4 separate regions of the Homo sapiens genome follow, and regions 2, 3 and 4 are each linked to region 1. The links are contacts of gene promoters, found by promoter capture Hi-C in blood cells and fetal thymus (Javierre and others, 2016). All regions are on one chromosome and are shown on one strand. The core of a region is centred on a gene start or on the middle of the fragment in contact, and the rest is flanking DNA. Distances in the headings are between cores, read along the strand shown. Region 1 holds the start of CCDC82 (coiled-coil domain containing 82). Region 2 overlaps MTMR2 (myotubularin related protein 2). Region 3 overlaps MTMR2 (myotubularin related protein 2). Region 4 overlaps CEP57 (centrosomal protein 57).

Evidence for each region. Contacts are between HindIII fragments. The CHiCAGO score rates a contact against its expected background, and 5 or more counts as called.
Region 2: a fragment that was not itself captured here is called in contact with the fragment with the promoter of CCDC82 in region 1 in 17 of 17 cell types (naive CD4 T cells, endothelial precursors, total CD8 T cells and 14 more); the score reaches 33.9 in naive CD4 T cells.
Region 3: a fragment that was not itself captured here is called in contact with the fragment with the promoter of CCDC82 in region 1 in 14 of 17 cell types (total CD4 T cells, M2 macrophages, endothelial precursors and 11 more); the score reaches 8.8 in total CD4 T cells.
Region 4: a contact is called between a fragment that was not itself captured here and the fragment with the promoter of CCDC82 in region 1, in 17 of 17 cell types (naive CD4 T cells, naive CD8 T cells, naive B cells and 14 more). The highest score is 21.3, in naive CD4 T cells.

The regions. Positions count from the first base shown.
Region 1 is chr11:96,388,662-96,391,536 of GRCh38, forward strand. CCDC82 (coiled-coil domain containing 82) reads right to left here and starts at 1,251. Exons shown (of 10, transcript NM_024725.4): 1 at 1,183-1,251. It overlaps JRKL (JRK like), which reads left to right and starts at 1,352. Exons shown (of 2, transcript NM_001261833.2): 1 at 1,352-1,412; 2 at 1,822-2,875. The coding sequence starts at 1,989. RefSeq lists a silencer at 1,165-1,424. The HindIII fragment of the contact is 1,223 bases long and covers 809-2,031 here.
Region 2 is chr11:95,843,524-95,846,693 of GRCh38, forward strand. It overlaps MTMR2 (myotubularin related protein 2), which reads right to left. Exons shown (of 15, transcript NM_016156.6): 11 at 1,430-1,636. Among named protein-coding and RNA genes, the nearest start is that of CEP57, 55 kb to the left of the region's middle. The HindIII fragment of the contact is 2,224 bases long and covers 262-2,485 here.
Region 3 is chr11:95,863,716-95,866,914 of GRCh38, forward strand. MTMR2 (myotubularin related protein 2) reads right to left here. Exons shown (of 15, transcript NM_016156.6): 3 at 1,886-1,961. Among named protein-coding and RNA genes, the nearest start is that of MTMR2, 59 kb to the right of the region's middle. The HindIII fragment of the contact is 3,847 bases long and covers 1-3,199 here.
Region 4 is chr11:95,826,486-95,829,612 of GRCh38, forward strand. It overlaps CEP57 (centrosomal protein 57), which reads left to right. Exons shown (of 11, transcript NM_014679.5): 9 at 1,301-1,542; 10 at 2,702-2,846. Among named protein-coding and RNA genes, the nearest start is that of CEP57, 38 kb to the left of the region's middle. The HindIII fragment of the contact is 517 bases long and covers 1,372-1,888 here.

The DNA.
Region 1 (2,875 bases), core at 1-2,500:
CTCAAGAAAAGATTCATTCTAGAAATCACCTACTTGCTGTATAAACAATGCAGGTGGTAGTTAACACTTTACAGATTTGAAAGGCAGTGGAACCCCAGGTCATTATTTGAAATTCTACCAGGAGGGATCCATTCTTGGGTGTAAAACATCACTCCTCTTCGATGTTTTCTTTTATATGGCAGTTTGGAGAGCAAAGATTAATAAGCCGAAAAATAATTATTGAATATCTACCAAAATGCAAGCACCTGCTAGGAACTGTGCTGCCACCATTTCAAATAAACATGGTCTCTGCTCCCAAGGAGCTCACAATCTGATGAAATTACTAGGGACACCAAAAACAAGCCAGCATAATACACGATTTGAGGGCTACAGTGTATGATTAAGATCAAGTTCTTATCACACTGCTATGAATAAATTTATCATAGTTCTTCTATTGGCAGGAAAACAAGACAGAACATGACAGAAATAGGATATAAGAAAATAAACATAAAGAGAGGAAAGCCTATTTCCCCCACTTAGAATCACAGTCCAACAGTCCACAATTTCGCAAAGTGGATCCTGCCAGCATGGTATCCGGGATAACTATATTATTCATTAAAATCCGTTAACAATGAAGGTTAATGCAGCAGGAATGAGTGGTAGACAGTGGAATAGATCCTCTCAGGAATTAACACCCGGAAGGGTGACTTTCATGATTACAAACCTCTTTGGCGGGACGCAGGAACCCAGCGCCCGCTAGCCCACTAGTCCGTCACTCTGCCTCCAGGAGGGAGGGGCACAGTAGCTAGGAAACCGGACCCTCAGGCCAAGCTTCGCGATGACGCGCGCAGGACGACGGAAACCCCCAGACCCCAAAAGAGCTCTGCACCGAGAAAACAATTACAAGGGTCTGGAAAGGCCAGAAACCCGAGAAATCACCAACCGAGCTCCCTACATCAGTTCCAAGCACCTCCCCAAGGCGGAAATAACGGGCACCGCGCCCACTGCAGCTCAGCTGAGGAGGGTTAGAGGCGCAAAGGGCTGAGGGGCGTTCTCCGGCCCACCCAAAGAGCGCCCGCGGGAATTTTTCTCTTAGTCCGCGAGGAGGCACGGCTTCCCCCGCCCCTCTCATAAACCATTAGCACCGGGAGCGCGAGCGAGTCCCAGCCGGGAGACAGCCCCGCACCGCCCTCGCGCTCTCACCTTTCAAAGCGCCTCCACCTCTGCCTCCGCCTCCGCCCCTGCCCCGGCAACCAGCTCAGGACAAGCGATGCTCCTCCCCCCCTTCCGGGGACCAAGGGAAGTCCCGCCTCTGGGTGGGGCGAGGGGTGGGGCCAGGCGGCGGGAGGGATCATCTTCCGGGAGCGTGGCTAGGGGCGGAGCGACTGCCGCGCGATAGTCAGGGAGCTGTGCGGGTCCTGGTTGCAAGAGAGGTGGGGAGAGGGGCCTGGCGGGTTTTGAGGGACTGGGAGGACTGTCCCGGCTAAAGCTGGCGCGGGAAACTGGGGCTGCGCGGCGGGAGGGCCCTGCTGCTGGGGAAGGAATCTAATATATCCGTTCCCCTGAGGAAGGGTGCCAGTCCTTGACTCCTAGGCTCTTCGGCTCTCTGTCGTAACTTTGGGGTGTGGCAGGGGTTAGTGACGCGCGGTTACCCGGGATCTGGACGTGCAGGAGGTTCGTGGCCACAATGGGGGTATAGTCTTTCTCACGGCTGCTGGGGTAATAAAACACATGCTTTTAATCCGGATTATCCGCGGTGACATGGGGCCTCCGCTACTGCCCGTATAAGTTAAAGAAAGGCCTGTTCTCTCAAACTTCCTCCTCTTTCACCTTCTTCTGCAGTCTATTTGCCAGCCAACCCCAGCCCGGGAGGGGATCAGGGCCACCAGGTTGCTGGTAAGGATGAAAGACTGAGTGTGTTAAGACTGTTGAAGTGAGCCTGTGTAAGAGAAGGAAGGATTTTGTGGATTGCTACATTGTGAGTGTGGGGTGAGTCCCAGAACCTCGCTATGTCAGGGAAACGGAAGCGTGTGGTGTTGACTATTAAAGATAAGCTTGATATAATAAAGAAACTTGAAGACGGAGGTTCTTCCAAACAACTGGCAGTGATTTATGGAATTGGTGAAACAACAGTTCGGGATATAAGAAAAAATAAGGAAAAGATTATAACTTATGCAAGCAGTTCTGATTCCACAAGTCTTTTGGCCAAGAGGAAATCTATGAAGCCATCCATGTATGAGGAATTGGACAGGGCAATGCTGGAATGGTTCAACCAGCAAAGAGCAAAAGGGAATCCCATATCTGGACCAATTTGTGCAAAAAGGGCAGAGTTCTTCTTTTATGCTTTGGGAATGGATGGTGATTTTAACCCCTCTGCCGGTTGGCTAACTCGTTTTAAGCAGCGGCACAGCATTAGAGAGATTAACATTAGAAATGAAAGATTAAATGGAGATGAGACTGCGGTGGAAGATTTTTGTAATAACTTTCGAGATTTTATTGAACGAGAGAATTTACAGCCTGAACAAATCTACAATGCAGATGAAACTGGACTCTTTTGGAAGTGCTTGCCTTCTAGGATTTCAGTAATCAAAGGTAAATGCACTGTCCCTGGGCACAAATCAATTGAAGAAAGAGTCACAATCATGTGTTGTGCCAATGCAACAGGTTTACACAAACTTAAACTTTGTGTTGTGGGGAAAGCAAAGAAACCTCGCTCCTTTAAATCAACTGACACCTTAAACCTGCCAGTCTCTTATTTCAGCCAAAAAGGTGCATGGATGGATCTTTCCATTTTCCGACAATGGTTTGATAAAATTTTTGTGCCGCAAGTTCGAGAGTATTTAAGATCTAAAGGCTTGCAGGAAAAGGCTGTGCTCTTGTTGGATAATTCACCAAC
Region 2 (3,170 bases), core at 124-2,623, 550 kb before region 1:
ATATCTACAATTCCCTGAAAAAGCTATTAAAATACTTTCTGCTTTTCCACTTACATATCTGTATATGGTTAGATATTCTTCATATACTAAAACCAACAAAACATAACAGATTGAAGGTAAAAATAGATATAAAATTCAGCTATCTTCTATTAAGCCAAACTCATTAAATTTGCAAAAGTAAAACAATGCCAGTCTTTTCATTAAACTTTTTGTTTTGGAAAATATTTTTTTTAGTTTAAATATTTCTGTTAATATATAATAAGCTTATTTCCTAAATTAAGAAATATTTTTAAATTTTTTCAAATTTAATTTTCAATATGGCAAATATTGATATAACTCACATAAAGTTCTCTGGGTAACAAGTTTGGGGAGTTAGGAAAAAAAAGTTCTATCCATAATTGTTAACAATGTAAAGGGGGTCCTGAAACCAAAAAGTTTGAGAATCATTACTCTACATTAACCTTGTGAGCAAATCCTCTTGACTGGGTGCCCTTTAATTGTCAAGATTCTATTTTCAGAATATAACTAGGTAAAAAGAACGGGGGGAGTAGGTAACCAGAGTTAGCAATTTAGGAATCCATAGCAACTTCGAACACCCCAAAATGTTTGATTTTGAACACATTTATATAAACATGTGCAGCTTTGGCTGACTAAAACTTGATTCTTTGAAGTACGAGTTTGTTTTAAATGGCCGTTTCATGATAAGTACATTGTGTAGAGAACGGCAAAATGTGAGCCATCTGAATAAACACTCCAGGTACCCAATTTTATTTAACAGTTCAAGTTCAAAAGAGCAGACTAACTTTAAATGTCTGTTCCTTTCATGTTACAGTTAACCCTTGAACAACACGGTTAGAACTGCACAGGTCCACTTATATGCAGATTTGTTTCAGCCAAATGCAGGATGCGGAACCCACATACACAGAGGGCCAACTTTACATGGTCCCAGCAGGGCCAGCTTCAGAACTTGAATATGTGTGGATTTTGGCCTGTTCATGGGATCTGGGAACCAAGCCCCCACATATACCAAGGGACAACTGTATAAACACTGCTAGTATACTCTGGTAACTACTGGATACTAAAGGTAAACATTACAGACAGCATCTGGGTAAAGACCCTTCTAAAAGTTTTTCAATTATTTAGGAAAACGCCTGCCCAGAAACACCCGTGGACATCACTGAATGATATCCGATGTTTCCCAGTGGAGATCACAGAAAAGACTGGGTCAGACACTTGACAAATAGCTAGCTCTGACTCCAGACTAGTCATGTTAGGGATATCTTAATGCTTTCCAAAACAAGCAAAAACGTTTACCCCACTAGATAAATGATCAATTTCAGATGAATATCTTATTTTAAAAAACACATTTTTTTCACATGCCTTGGCATGAATGCATGTGATATATCCAAAGTCAAGGTTCCTTACTTACTAGTTGAAATCGATGTCCAAAACTTAGCCATTCTTTCTCCACAAGGACTTCAAATCCTCGGATGGTTCGATAGTATCCATCCAACATGAGCATGGCAAGGGAAGTGAGCTGAGCTGTGCGATCCCAACCATCACTGCAATGCACTACCACAGACGTCTTCCCTGACTCTACCTTGTCAGCAATCCTAAGAGCCCCTGCAAGAATAAGCTGGAAAACAGATTTTTTAATACATTGTTTTTAAACAAGGTAAATACTTCCTTCTTCAAAATTTACTAATACAGCTTATCAGGGATCATTATTTCAATAACATGAGGAAAAACATTTGTCCCTTCCTAAGAAGAATTTTTTTAAATGGTAGAAGATATATAAATTTTGCTTTTAAAACTAGAAAAACCTCATAATTGCTGACTCCTATTAATTTGCCCAACGAAATAGCCAAATCAAAAGTACCTTTGGGTGCTACATAAATCATGGTGTAAGATTCTTCTTAGAAAAGTTCTAAAGAGATCTGTTTCTAAGAATCAAATATTCCATCATCTATTTAAATAAAAATAATTGATATAGCAATTGAAGCCTTGTTATGATTTAAAACAATGCTTAAACCAAATTGGGATAAGCACCTGAAAGCAATAATACTGGATCTCTTTAAAATACTCTATAGCAGTTATTGTATTGTTTTGACTAAAGATTTTTATGTCACAGAGCATACAGCAAGCACAGTATAAACTTTAGAGTGAGCTACTTTTCTGTAACACTGCATGAAAATTCACAGAATATGTCAATCTGTTACTTAAAATAACTTCAGCTCTTATTTTTTTAAATATGCAGAAATCCTTTGCAAAATAACTTACCTTTTCTGAAGTCAATCTTGAGTTAAAACTAAACATAATTAGATATAACCAAAAAAGAAACACAAAAGTATGGTATCTTAAAAAAAAAAAAAAAAAAAAAGGACAATACAGCCCTATTCTTCTCTGCAATGGCCATATTGTATTATACTTGAAAAACAGTATAGTTCTACATACGCAGATGAGAATGAAAGAAAACAGATTATTAAGCTTGGAAGTATGATAACCTCCCCTTGATCACAGCTATAAGCATATTCTGGAAATGGGGTACTATGACGATCTTGACTATATATCAAGAGTCATTTGTAAGCCTGAAGTGCCTAGACCTCATTGTCCAATGATCCTAATTCAGTATCTTAAATAAATTCCACCTATAATTCTAGTGCATATACGAAGTTAAGAATCACTAACCCAAAGGCTTAGTTAAGATTGATCAGGAAGAGTTATCCAAAGTAGTAATTGTTCATTCATTCATTAAATAAACATTTATGGAGTCCCTTACTAGAAGGTAGATACTGCTCTAGGCACGGGCCATACAGCAGGGAACAAAGTTCCTGCTTACTGAAGTTTACATTCTATTTGGGTGAGGCCCACCAGTCACAAATAAACAAGGAAATATACAGTATACCAGATGGCAATAAGTGAAAACGCTCCATAGAAGTTATAGGGAATGCTGGTAGAACTCTTATTTTGTAAAGAGGCTGGGAAAGGTCTCTCTCAGAAAGGTGATATTTGAGCAGAGACCAGAAGAGAGTGATTGAGTAAATAAACTTTCTTTGTGTGATAAGGATTGGGGGAGAATAAAGTAGTTTAGCCCAACTATATGTCTTATAACTCTAGGGAAATTTGATTCTGTTATAGCCAGCCTTTTAGAGACCATGTTGAAACTGCAA
Region 3 (3,199 bases), core at 553-3,052, 520 kb before region 1:
GTGCTTTTCTGTTACATCTTCCCCTTTATTCTAAAATCATGAGATAATATACATATAAAGATGCTTCTAAAGTTCTAAGTACAATACAAAAATTCAAGGGTTTATACCTATGTTACTATTATCATCATTAGTCTTTGCTTTGTTCTGTACCCTCTATCATTCCTCAAGAGATCATGACAATGGAGAAAAGAAGATAAATACAAGAAATTCTTAGACACTGACTGGATGTTAAGAGTCCAGAAAAGAAAAAAAGAGCAGTCTAGTACGACAACCAGATTTCTGACTTGAGTAAATGGACAGCTGGTATTGATGTCAACTGAGAGAGAGAATGCAAGAAAAAGAGTAAGTTTGGAGTTAAACGTGATGATTTCCATTTTGGAGATGTTGGGTATAAGGTTCCTATGGGATATTCAAGGATGTGTGTTTAAGATAGAGGCATTTGTTTACTTACATTAGGACAGGGGTTCACACTGGAGATAACAAATTTTGGAGTCATCAGCCAATATATGGCAAGTGATGTTACAAATTTAGATATGGTCAACCGAAAAGAGTATACAGGAGGGAAAAGGGAAATGGGTCAAGGATGAAGTCCTAGGGCGTGTTGCTATTAAAGGAAGAAGAGCCAACAAATGAGACTGAGTGGTAACTTGAAGTTCTTTAATAAAGCCATATTTCATAATGGGAGCTGCAATTACGGCATTAAGTTCAGAATAAGAAAAAGAAATTGTCACAATGCTAGATATAACCTTATTAGCTAGGTTATCTTCCTATGCCTTAGTTTCCTTCCTCACCTATAAAATGGGGTTGATGTTATTCTCAAGAATATACTCTCTGAGAATGACTGAGATAGTAAGCACTCAATAATAATAACTACTATCATTATATAATAGCCAATTCTGAAAAAATGTAAGTAGGTAGTTCAGATCAAGAGCTTGGTGTATATATAAGGCTAACTGGGGAAAAGAAAAAGACTGAGAGGTTATTCAATCAAGAGCCAAGAGCAAGAAAAGACAAATAGCATGCTAAGGACTAGGAAGCTAAATTTAGTAAATAATAATCCATTTAGAATACAGGTCCTGCCTTTGGCTTGTTTTTACACATAGAAATGACACCTAGCCAAGTAAAATTCAGCATTTTTAAAATCCTTTTTAAAAATTATGATTGGTAACAAAATGAAACATGGTAGTTATATTAACTAAGAAATCATTTACTTCATTCTTCTAACATATTACTTTATTTCTCAGAGTTTATGAGTAGATATCTGTAGATTATCACACAGATGAAACAAAACAAAAGCATGAGGAAAAAAAACACAGCTTGTAAGCTCATTTTCAGTTTCCAGTCCATATTATAAGTATTAGGCTGGGCAGAGAAGGGCATCTACATACAAACAGATGCAATGGAGATGATGTATTTCATCCAAAAATTAACCTGACTTTATTCAGAGAAGAAAGACATGAAGGAAGCAAACAGAAGAGAAGATATTTTAAGAAAAATTACTTGTATAAGGTGACAATTCAATGTTTTTATCTAGGCAACTCAATATCTGAATATAGTAATTCAAAATAATAAAATTTTCCTTCACAGGCTTCAGCAACAGTTTTAGCAAAAATCCACCTACTTTTAAAGAAAGTAAAACAAACCAGAGAAGAGGCAAAGTATAATTCAATTTGCATGTTTCCCAGGAGTTCAAACACAAACACTAGCAGCGGGTCTAGGCTTACGTTTGTAGAACACACTAAGATGCTGAGAAGACTGCAGGTAAAGAGTTCTGCCAGACAGGAGGTGTCTCTGACAGCCAGTTTATTCTCTGTATGCTGAGAGTACTGAACATTCTGCACAGTAGAACGGAGAAGGACATTAAGCAAAAAATACCATTACGGACCCATGTCTTTAATATTTTCTCCTGGAAGCAAGGGTGGTTCTTCCATTTCTGCTAACTTGTTAGACTCCCTCAGGACCTGGGGTGGGAAAGACAAAAAAAGAAACATTTTTTTATTCAAAGGCTACTTTTTCACTCATATTTCAACTGAGTATACTTGCTCTTGAAGTTATAACATCATATCACATACACTATTTTAAATCAAATTTGTTAAACTGTAGTGTTGGCATGTATAATATATGAAGTTAATGTTTTTCTAGAAAGCATTTACTGAGTGCTTAAATCATATCAAAGCACTCTACATTTGTTACACAAAAAATTGTACATGTTTTTGCACTGCATCCTAAGACAGCCTAACAATAAAAGAGGTATTATATCCTCATTTCTCAGATGAGGAAAAAGCAGCCGAAAGTGGTAATTAGTTCAAGATCACATAGTTAAAGTGCCAGTGTGTAGATCTGAACTACAGTTGAATGGATTCCAAAGCCATGCTGAAGGGCCATAGTACATTTAAACTCAGACAAAATTAAGTTCTTGTGTAGATTTAATGTTTAGAGAATTTAGAAATGATGTTGATAAATCATCTTGTTGAAAAAGAGTTTAAATAAATTCATGATCAACAAATATGACCAGGTAGTTACCTTTTGAAGGATGCTACACTATATTCCAAGAATGTGGATACAGAAACAGTTCTCTAAAGGAGTTACAACCCAGAGAACACACAGACACACCCAAATTGTCATATGCTAAATATATCCCCCATTAACTACCAAAAGCCTTCCTCACCTCCTCCCACCTCTCTCACCATCAAACAGTAAATTTCTGTCTCCAATCCCATTAATTCCTCCATCTTCCGCAATCTGGCTCACCTGCGGCCAATAACTAAGAACTACAAAGAACAAATTAACTTATTTTCAATAAATTTGCAATCTAAACAAATTCATTCTTTTGAAAGTTTAACAATTTGTTTCATAAAGTAACTTTAATGCAATACCTAAAGAAATAGTATATACACACATACATATTTTTATGTGCCACATCTAAACTTCAGAAAAGTCGTCTTTAAAGGTCATCTTTTAAACACGCTATCTAGTTGCCAGTCCCTAAATAGTCTTATGTAGTCATAAAAGAAGAGAAGAAGGAAAGAAGAGAGGAAAGGAGGACCAGCCTATGAAGATGGGGTTAAAAAGGCAAAAACTTGCCATATACAAAAATATAGACTTGGGTTCACATCCTGACTGCACCACATACTAACTTGGTACTCTTAGGCAAGGTTTTCAACTTCTCTATGCCTCATTTTCCGCATCTATAAAATGG
Region 4 (3,127 bases), core at 380-2,879, 560 kb before region 1:
TGGATGCTGGGGTTAATACCTAGGTGATGGGTTGATCTGTGCAGCAAACCACCATGACACACATTTACCTATATAACAAACCTGCGCATGTACGCCAGAACTTAAAAGTTGAAGGAAAAAAAAATTTCATTATGGCAGAGTTTTGACTACATGGGTGGTCGGTGCCCCTAACCCCTCCATTGTTCAAGGGTCAAGTGCATATTAATATAATCAGAAAAATAACAGAACGAGAATTTTTTAAATTATTGCATATTGAAAGTGTACTCATAGGCAATTAGTATGCTAAATATATATTACAAGTTACGAGCAAAATAGTGGTTACATCGATTGATTTTTGAATAGTGGACCAGCCTTGCATTGATGTAATAAACTCCCACTTGGATGTGATATATAATACTGCTGCATTCACTTTGCTAGCTAACAATAGAAACTAAGATTAGAAGGAAAGCATATGTTTAGCTTAGCATGGTGGTTCCAAATCTGGCTAATCAAAATCAACTGGAGGACTTGAAAACACAAATTTCCAAACCCTAACTCTGCAGTGAGTTTGGTGTGCTGCCTAGGAACCTGCATTTTAAATATGCTTTCTAATAATATTTATGGAGCCAAGTAAGCCCAGCCATCTATTTATAAAGTGGAATAGTACATTGAGATTGTTGGTTTAGTGTTTAAAACAAAAGCAAAATATCTTTGAGAAGTCTATCAGGTTTTTCTTACACACGTGATAGACATGTAATTTAGTGCTTCCTATTATTCCAGGATACAGAAATGAACAATAGTGTCTACCACCTGGATGTACACTGTTTAATAGGTGAAATAGATATGTAAAAGCAATTAAAATATGATAAATGCTATGAGAGAGATGTAAAAAGTGTTATAGGTGATCTGATAATGGACTGATTGATTACCTGGCAGTTTTAAGGAAGCCTTTAAAAATAATATATTTGAACTGGGTTTTAAAGAATGATATAAATGTTGCTAATACACCAAAAAAATGTCATCTGCAAATATGGTTTGTTCACAAAATGGAGAGAAGGGGAGGATGATAGGACATGAGGCTAGGAAATGTAGGTTGCAGCTCAATGATGTGTATGTAGGGCCTTATTTTCCATTCTGAAACATAGTTAGTGGATTTATATCAAAGGATTTCAAATAGAAGAACATCATGATGAGAATAATTTTAGGATTTATATACTCTACTTTAGGGGGTGGAGAGTTCTTTTTACCTAGGCTTAGGGAATAGAAAGTGGTGTAGAGAATATAACTTCAATTACTTCTTTCATCATTTTTCTTCCTTTAGTCCACAAGCCCTAGCCATGCCGTGGTAGCCAATGTTCAGCTTGTCTTGCATCTAATGAAGCAACACAGTAAAGCTTTGTGCAATGATCGAGTCATCAACAGTATTCCTTTGGCAAAGCAAGTATCTTCACGAGGTGGTAAAAGTAAGAAGTTGTCAGTAACACCTCCCTCCTCCAACGGTATTAATGAGGAGTTGTCAGAAGTCTTACAGACTTTACAGGATGAATTTGGGCAAATGAGCTTGTGAGTTTTTGTTTTTTTTTTTAAATTCAGTTTAGCTCTAAAACCTCATTTTTTAAAAACTTGTTGACTTTATTAAATCTTACTTTCCTTTGTTGAGCAAGTATGGTTGAGCACAATCCTTATACCAACCAAGTTACTGGGACTTTAACAAATACAACTAATAAGGGTAAAATCTCTCTCTTTTTAAATACTGTTAAATGTTTTGAAGACCAAGGTTTATATTTAAGTTTTATTTCTTTGAGAACTTATGATATACAGTCATGCATCACTGAATGACAAAGATGTGCTCTGAGAAATACATCATTAGGCGATTTTCTTTTCCTTGTGCTAACATAAGAGTGTGCTAAGCTTATAGCTTATTGCTCCTAGGCTACAAACCTATACAGCATGTTACTCTACTACTAAATACTATATGCAGTTGTAACACAATGGTAAGTATTTGTGTATATAAACATCTAGGTAGAGTAAAAATATGATACTAAAGTCTTACGGGACCACTGTTGTATATGTGGTCTGTTGTTTACTACATCATCATCTGGCACCTGACATCACATTCATTTTAGCTAAACTTAACTGATAAGACATGAGTGTTTGAAGAGCAAGATTCATCTGTAGACTTTACATATACAATACTCTTTTGGGGAAAATAAGAATATAAAGAATTAACCTTGAAATTAAGAACTCTTGCATTTCCCTCTAGTGCCTTTCTTGAACTTTTAAATTCATATTTTTAATTAAAAATTTCTTGATCTAGGCTAGGCATGGTGGCTCACACCTGTAATCCCAGCACTTTGGGAGGCTGAAGTGGGCATATCACATCCTGGCTAACAGGGTGAAAACCTGTCTGTACTAAAAATACAAAAAATTGGCCAGGCATGGTGGCAGGCGCCTGTAGTCCCAGCTACTCGGGAGGCTGAGGCAGGAGAATGGCGTGAACCCGGGAGGCAGAGCTTGCTGTGAGCCGAGATCATGTCACTGCACTCCAGCCTGGGCGACAGAGCAAGACTCCGTCTCAAAAAAAAAAAAAAAATTTATTGCTCTGTTCAAAAAATGGAGTCATTTTTTAAACACATGGAGCAGTAACCCATAATGAGGTATAATAGACCTAACCATGAAACACAGAAAACTTAACCATGTTCTACTTCTGCTTTGTATATAGTGATCACCAGCAGCTTGCAAAACTTATCCAGGAGTCGCCAACCGTTGAACTGAAAGACAAGTTGGAGTGTGAATTGGAGGCATTAGTGGGAAGGATGGAAGCAAAAGCCAACCAAATAACTAAAGTTCGAAAATACCAAGCCCAGGTAACTCAGTTTTCCTTCACTCAAGTTTCTAATGATTAAGAAAAAAAAAACACTTTAATTCAAATATTAAATGATGACACTAAGTGTATCATAGATAAATATCTACAGGAGATACTTCTTTACTGAAGACATTTGTTCATTGAGAATTGGTAAGTGGATTAAGAAAGAAGACACTTTTAGTCACTTAGCATATTCATCTAAGAAACATCTTTCAAATACTGAATATATTTAATATTCTTTATGAATAAGCTTTAACTTCTTTGATGAATTTAAATTGGAGT